Linked DNA regions of Homo sapiens: region 2 is linked to region 1. The links are contacts of gene promoters, found by promoter capture Hi-C in blood cells and fetal thymus (Javierre and others, 2016). All regions are on one chromosome and are shown on one strand. The core of a region is centred on a gene start or on the middle of the fragment in contact, and the rest is flanking DNA. Distances in the headings are between cores, read along the strand shown. Region 1 holds the start of TPD52L3 (TPD52 like 3). Region 2 overlaps ERMP1 (endoplasmic reticulum metallopeptidase 1).

Evidence for each region. The method cuts DNA at HindIII sites, captures the fragments that hold promoters and counts their contacts. A CHiCAGO score of 5 or more calls a contact.
Region 2: a fragment that was not itself captured here is called in contact with the fragment with the promoter of TPD52L3 in region 1 in 1 of 17 cell types (endothelial precursors); the score reaches 5.5 in endothelial precursors.

The regions. Positions count from the first base shown.
Region 1 is chr9:6,326,043-6,330,095 of GRCh38, reverse strand. It overlaps TPD52L3 (TPD52 like 3), which reads right to left and starts at 1,721. Exons shown (of 2, transcript NM_001001874.3): 1 at 1,134-1,721. The coding sequence starts at 1,500. LOC107987046 (a long non-coding RNA gene) reads left to right here and starts at 1,828. Exons shown (of 3, transcript XR_001746614.2): 1 at 1,828-1,895. The HindIII fragment of the contact is 1,804 bases long and covers 1,179-2,982 here.
Region 2 is chr9:5,801,748-5,805,800 of GRCh38, reverse strand. It overlaps ERMP1 (endoplasmic reticulum metallopeptidase 1), which reads left to right. Exons shown (of 15, transcript NM_024896.3): 9 at 16-190; 10 at 584-774. Among named protein-coding and RNA genes, the nearest start is that of ERMP1, 29 kb to the left of the region's middle. The HindIII fragment of the contact is 1,182 bases long and covers 1,262-2,443 here.

The DNA.
Region 1 (4,053 bases), core at 472-2,971:
AGACGTTCTTTTTAAAATGTTCCTTGAGACAGGGGTTTATCTTTCTTGAATTTGGCTATACCTGTTTTCCTCCAGCCCCTCAGCTGGAGGTGGTAACTAACTAGGAATTGCTGCCAGAGAGGCAATTTCTTCCTTTTAAGTGAAGTGCTGCTATGGCAAAGACATGCTGCTTCAAGGGTTAAACTTTAAAACACTCATTTTGATATATAAAGAAATTATAAACAAAGCACAAGGCAAAGTTGCAATTTCAGTTTGTGTTCAAAGTAGTAATAATTTCCTAAACTGACACTGTTGTTTTGCTTAGTCCAGACCTTTGAAAACAAACGAGTTTTACAAAAGCTATATTAGTAATGTAACAATTAGTGCACTACCACTATTTTCCCCTCTTTTTCTGAGTCTCAGAGAAGATGAAGTTTTCTTGATCATCTTTTTAAAATAAAAGTTGTAGGCCAGGTGAAGCTTTCAAGGTGACTTTGAGACTGAGGGAAGGAAGGAAATGGGGAAGGGAAAACAAACAAACAAACCAAAAAAACACTACAGATTACTTCATACCTCTTTCAAGCTTAAACAGAACTCTACTTTGGCTTTCTAATAAGCTAGTTTTCCAAAAGAGAGTTTGGGCTTTGGCCTAAGACCCCTCTGGAGCCACTGACTTGCCCATTAGATACAGTCTCAGGAAAGCTAATATAATGGCACATTTCGTCTACAAACTTAAGTGAAAAATAACCAGGTACAAAACTTTGGGTTCTCTATCTTAAAAGCAGCAAATATCTGTGTTCTTTTCTCAAAACTGGATTCTGTCAATTTCCTGAATTAACCACTTTACCATTGTGGTTTGCTTGCTTGTTTTTGTTGGGCAGAGTTGCAAATGTAATAAGGGAAGGGGGTCCTTGCACTGGTTTAGTACCAGGCAAGGTTACCAAGGGGGCTCATTCTGGTTCCAGAAAGTGGAGATGGTCATCCTCACTCTCCAGAACTGGGAGTGGCTCATTCCCACTCCCCGGAATCTGGAGTGGGTCTTCCCCACACCCCAAAACTGAGAGCAGATCAACCCCACCCTCCGCAGAAGAAAGACAGTCAGGGCCAAGCTCTTTTGCCCCCTGAGACTTTGGACTTGATTGTCCCCATCAGACCTTCAAAAGATCTGAATGTGGCCGACTTCTTCACGCCTCCAAGCTTCCTGCAGATGAGAGTGCCCATGGTGGACAGAGCAGCTGATGTCTTCTGTTTCACATAGGTGTTGGAGACCTGAACATCAAGCCAGCTCTTGGACAGATTCTGTCTCAGCCCTACCAAGGCGGTGAGGCCTAACTTCCTCTTGAGTTCCCCACAGCGTCTCTCTTTGGCTGCTAGTACGTGGCGTAGGGTTACAATTTCAGCCTCCAATTTAGTGAGTTTGGTTTTGAGCTCTCTTTGCTCGGGCTCTGTCAGATCCTCCAGTTCAGAAGTCGAGTGGGATTCATATGTGCCCACAGAGGTCTCTGTCCTGGCATGTGGCATGGACTGGGAAAGAAGATCTTCGTTAAGAGAGTCCAGGTCCAATTCTTGGTAGAAAGAGTCGAATTATTGGGCTGCAGAGAAATAATCTTGGCCAGCAGAGTCGAAATCTAGGCCTGCAGGCTCAGACTCTTGGCAGGTGGAGTCAGATTTCAGGCGGGAGGGATCCATGGCCCAGCTGGTACAATGGACACCTTGACAGTTGAGTTGACGACCTGGCCTGTGAAGTAGACACGCTAGCTCGTGGTGTTCACTTCCGGGTGGTGGGGGTGGGGAGCCGGGCTGGTCAGGGTTGCGGAGGTGGGACTTCCCGCCCAAACCGCGAGGCTGTAGAATCAGTGCTCAGCTGAGGCGCAACCCACACTGGCGGCATTTTGGCATTGCGAGGACCTCCTGAGGTAGGCAGTGCAGAGATTATTGTCGAAAAGAGAGGAATTTCTCCTGACATGGTAAATGACAAGCCCTGGCCTTCAAACCAAAGCGTCAGGCAACTGTTTTCCACCACACCAGCTCCAACACTTGAAAATCATTTAAACATCATTGTGCTAGTATGAATTTTCAGTTTTGCAGTTGCATTTTCTTTATTCCGCCCTACCTCCACTCACATTTCTGGAAGCATGTCTGCCTACATTCAAGGTTACCTGTTGTGGGAGGTAGTCTGCACAGTAAAGTAAAACTAGTTAAATAGGATCTATCAGAGTGTGGATCCACTCTCCCCTGCCAACCTGCCACCCCAACCTCCCCCCAACCGTAATTCTGCCGAGAGTAAACTTATGCAATGGAAAAATCAGGACGTTAATCCAGTGAGGTCTTGTGGTCGAGCTTCACTTAGCTCATTCTATGGCTGCCTATTCTCAGAGAATATTCTTGAGCAAGTCTTAGACTCTAGTGATTTTGTTGGATATTCTTGTAATTCTTGCGAGCATGATCTTGTGGAACATAATTTGATCCTCAGCAAATTTCAGCAGTTTGCCCTACTCATGCCTATGTGGCTACAATGAAGCATCCAGCTGTGCATTCAAACCAACTTCAGCCCTCCTTTGAGTTTATGTTCTATAACCCTTTCACATAATTTAGTAGTGTTTATTATTGCCTTGTCCTGAGTGGTGTGTTTCCCTAAGTTAAAAAGTGAGAATTGTTCTTGTAAACATGAAGGCTGATGGAGGATTTGGCTATGTGTTTAAAGGCCTGAAAAGGGCAGCAAGGACTCCCTAAAAACCAATTTGTTCCAGAGGGTAGACTTTTCCTCTATTGCCTGTAGAAACACTAGTGGTTTCAGGAACACTCCCAGACTCTGAATCAGAACTCCTCTTTCAAACCTGAGACTAAAGGGTAAAGAAATCCCTGAATTATGCTACATAATATAGAACACACATTGTCTCTTCAAAGTTGAGACTCCAAATCACCAAATCTGAACTTGCACTTGATTTTACTTCTCTGTATTATTTCAACCACCAACCTTGATGCCTATTTTCTTTATAAGCTTCCTCATCCTTCAGTGTATACTATGAAATCTTTTATTAAGCCTTGATTCCTTTTGACAGAGAATGGTTTTTTTTCTCATAGCAAAACTGAGCTTTTCAGACACTTAGTTGCCAGATCCCACATCAAGACATACCCTGTCATTCAAATAGGAAAATAAGAAGTCAAATTATTTCTTTTTCAGATGATATGATTCCATATCCAGAAAACCCGAAAGGCTCCACCAAAAGGCTCCTGGAACTGATAAATGACTTCAGTAAAGTTTCAGGATATAAATTCAGTATCATTTCTATATATCAATAATGTGGCCGGGCGCGGTGGCTCACACCTGTAATCCCAGCACTTTGGGAGGCTGAGGCGGGCGGATCACGAGGTCAGGAGATCGAGACCATCCCGGCTAAAACGGTGAAACCCCGTCTCTACTAAAAATACAAAAAATTAGCCGGGCGTAGTGGCGGGCGCCTGTAGTCCCAGCTACTTGGGAGGCTGAGGCAGGAGAATGGCGTGAACCCGGGAGACGGAGCTTGCAGTGAGCCGAGATCCCGCCACTGCACTCCAGCCTGGGCGACAGAGCGAGACTCCGTCTCAAAAAAAAAAAAAAAAAAAAAAAAAAAAAAAAAAAAAAATAGACAAAAGACATGAACAGACACTTTTCAGAAGAAGACATACAAGTGGCCAACAAACATATGAAAAAACATATGAGAAAATGTTCCACATCACTAATCATCAGAGAAATTCAAATCAAAACTGTAATGAGATAACATCTCACACCTGTCAGAATGGCTATTCTTAAAAAGTCAAAAAACAACAGATGTTAAGAAGGCTATGGAGAAAAGGAAATGCTTATACACTTATACACTTGTGGTGGGAATGTAAATTCAGCTACTGTGGAAAACAGTTTATAGATTTCTCAAGTAACTTAAAACAGAACTACCATTAATCCAGCAATCCCATTACTAGGTGTATATGCAAAAGAAAACAAATCATCCTATTGAAAAGACACATGCACTCATATGTTCATCACAGCACTGTTCACAATAGCAAAGACATGGAATCAACTTAGGTGCCCATCAA
Region 2 (4,053 bases), core at 603-3,102, 520 kb after region 1:
TTTTCTTTCTTTCAGAATGCCAGTGCCCAGTATCTGGGAGAAGTATTTTTTGACATTTCGCTGTTTGTCCATTGCTGTTTTCTTGTTACCCTCACTTACCAAGGACTTTGCTCGGCGTTTATTAGTGCTGTCTGGGTAGCATTCCCATTGCTCACAAAGCTCTGTGTGCATAAGGACTTCAAGCAGCATGGTAGGGTATTTTTGATTTTGATATACATGGGAGAATACCTTAAAATACTTAAGGCTTTCAGGGACTCTTTCTTTTTTGGTTTTATTGGGTAGGCTTTCTAAATTGTTAGTTTTTAAAAGTTTTCATACCACACAAATTATCTTATGCCTTATACTCCATCCCTTTCTCATGTTTGTGAACACATACTAATATATTACTTGTGTATTTTGCTTTATTCTTATTTGTATTTTATCCTGAGTGAAAGATCCTACTCCAAGATAACATACACCCTTAAGGGCAAGAGTCACATCTAACCTAATTTCTGTTAGGGTACCAAGGCACACCAGTACTATAAAAATTTATATCTCACTGGAGGATTTCATAGATGTGTGCTTTTTTTCTCTTTTTCCCTAGGTGCCCAAGGAAAATTTATTGCTTTTTACCTTTTGGGGATGTTTATTCCTTATCTTTATGCATTGTACCTCATCTGGGCAGTATTTGAGATGTTTACCCCTATCCTCGGGAGAAGTGGTTCTGAAATCCCACCTGATGTTGTGCTGGCATCCATTTTGGCTGGCTGTACAATGATTCTCTCGTCCTATTTTGTAAGAGAAAATAAGTTTTTTTCTTTTTCTTCATTTTTTATATGAATATGAATTTAGCCATACTAGATTCTGTGAAATAGTGTTACGTGTACTTTATTGAGAAAATCTGAAGCAGAAGAAATGGTGAATGAATGGCCATGCATCTTGTAAATTTGGTATCGTAAGAAACTGTAGTATAGAGTTTGTTGTTGCTGTTTAAAAGTTTTTTGCCTCCCTATCCTTCCAAATTCTCTGATTTACCTCTTTTCAAATAGCCTGTCAGATACCTGAGTGTGAATTTGTAGAGCGTTTACCAAGTATTAATTGTTAGAGATTGCCTGGTGGTGAATGATCCTAATAGTATATTTTGAAATTACTAATTAGAGGCACATGTTAATAGATACATGGGTGGTTTTATTAGTGCTTTTAGAGCTAGTGAAGGAAGACTAAATCTGATGAGGCTTTTTTCATTATCATTCCACTACCTTGTTGCTACCACATGAAAGCTTGTTAATTGAGTCTGTTATGACACCCAAACGTGCCTTCATTTACCAAATAATGAAATGATCACAGGCCTTGTCAGTCCTCATTTTGCCGTATCAGTGTCCTGCCCTAGTAAGGAGAGTCCTGTGTTTGCCATCCCTTTTTTTCTTCCCTTGGGATTCCCAGAGGGAAGAAAAGACAGTGATGCAGAGTTTAAGACCAGACCCCCCTTGAGCAGAGTAAGCCCCAAGCAAGGTTTTGCTTTGGTTTGATGTCCACCTCCACGATCCAAGATGGGCCCCTCCAGAGAATGCAGGTCTCTTTTGGTGGGAATTCCTAAGAATAAAAAGTAATTATTGAACACTCAGAGGTGCACCTTGAAATTTGAGGATAGGGAACCAAACAGGAAAAGGAGCTATGATTTTATTATAGTTCTTTTCTTCATGGAGATGATAGTGAGCCTTTTCATACTGATATAGTAAAGGGCATTCGTTACCCCTTTACTTTGTGGAAGTTAGGTTCTAAAGACAGCAGGTAAGGAAAACACTACACACATGGTCAGCATCATCCGTGGAAGTCCCTTATAGCCAGTAAAGCTCTATATATGTGACTTTGTGTATATAGTCCTGTAGAGTAATTCTTATGCATATTATTGTTTGAGGTTGGTTGTACTAGTCTTAAAAGAGATCTGAGCCTTCCAACCATTTTACTTATAGGATAATTATTAAGGATAATATAAGGATAAGGATAATCCTTATTGGTATTCATAGGGCTGTATGAAAAGTTCTAAAATGTTCTTTGCTGCCTGTAGGGTTTGCTGCTTTTGAGTTTAATAGTAACCCTTATATCATCTGTATTTTTGATAGGTTTGCTGTTGTAAGGATTGAAGGAGACAGTGGACTTTTGTTATCTATAGATTAGGTTCTAATCTAATCTGAAGTCAACTAGTTATGAACTGAATGCCCCCACACCCCCGTTTATTTGTTAAATTATAGTCATGAATGGGAGCTATGGATGTCCATAAAAGATGACTCAGATAGGGGACATTTAAATTCTGTTCCACTGATAATATGAAAGGGGGCAAAATGAACCCTGGAGATGTTCATTGTGGAAATGGAAAATGTCCCCAAAGCATGGAAATCTTGGAAACCAGAAGAAAGAGGATTAAAGTGTCTTATCATCTAAATTATATTTTATTGGGAAAGCTTTTGGAGAGAAGACTGCCTCTTGGAATACTTTAGAAAGCTCACTTATTTTTCATTATAATGTGAAATAGCCCTGCCGCACTTTGATGCCATGAGTTATCACTCTTTTAATTATTTTCTTACTTATGTGTAGCAGTGTTAATGATAGTGGCTTATTAATAGAGTAAGACTGTTTTCTTTGGGTAATGGAGAATTGAACCACAATGCATATTTCAGACAGCTTTCCCTTCAGTCCTTGGGGATTTATTAAATACATCTGCTAGAAAGCAATTAAAGTCTTGTCAAGCAATCACGGTTTTTTGTTTGTTTGTTTGTTTGTTTGTTTTTGAGACAGAGTCTCGCTCTGTCACTCAGGCTGGAGTGCAGTGGTGTAATCTCGGCTCCCTGCAACCACCGCCTCCTGGGTTCAAGCAATTCTCGTGCCTCGGCCTTCCTGAAATATTGCATCCTGTGTCACTCTAGGTTCTGAGATGGGTGCAAAATAAAATGAAGAGAAGCATGAAAAGGGACTCTGAAATGTCCATTGTGTGCTGATAACTGAGCTGTTTCTGAGTCTTCTCCTCCTGACCCCACTTGTATCAGCAGTCCCCATTTCCCCTGTCATTCAATCAGTATACGTATAACCATGAAGGTCCAGCAGAGAATAACTTAAGGACACCTATTAACTGATTGCTTGCTGGGCATGGTGGCTCACGCCTGTAATCCCAGCACTTTGGGAGGCTGAGGCGGGTGGATGACTTAAGGTCAGCAGTTCAAGACCAGCCTGGCCAACATGGTGAAACCCTGTCTGTACTAAAAACACAAGAAATTAGCTGAGCACGGTGGTGCACACTTGTAATTTCAGCTACTCAGGAGGCTGAGGCACAAGAATCGCTTGAACCTGAGTGTTGGAGATTGCAGTGAGCTGAGATCGTGCCTCTGCACTCCAGCCTGGGTGACAGAGCGAGACTCTGTCTCCAGAAAAATAAATAAAATTTCACATTCATGTTATTTTTCTACTTATGGAAATAAGTAGAGAAATAAAATGAAGAAGGCATAAAGGGGAGGTGGGTTTAGATTTCATGTCTATAGTATACCAATATTCCATCCAGAGGCATCTGCAGCAAAACAGTACTAGCCTTAGGTCACACATCTCACATTTGTATACTGAGTACAAAAATATGACAGAGTACCTGAGGACTTGAGGCTGAGCTAGCAAAACAAAATGTGTCACCCTCGCTGTCCATCTTTCTCTCAGTATTCACAATATTTAAAATGTGGCTTCTTAGAACAATTTCAGATTTCACATAAAAGTTTCCCCAAATGGCTTCTTCAGACCCTGTAAGGGATCTGTGGACATACTCTGTGAGTCGTGTGTGTCCTTTACAGTTTTTAGTTCAGCGATTTCATTACGATTGAAAATATTTAGGATTTTCTAGATGCCAACCTTGAGACTGAGTCATTTACATTTACTGCCTAGATTTATTGTTTTGATTGTGTTGGCATTGGTTAATTTGTCACTTAGAGGGATAATATTACTTTGTAATGCAGTTTTTCCTCTTATGCAGGTCCACTGGCAGAGTCTTGAAGGTACATCTCTATGCCAGTTGAGATGAATTTAGTATTTTGACAT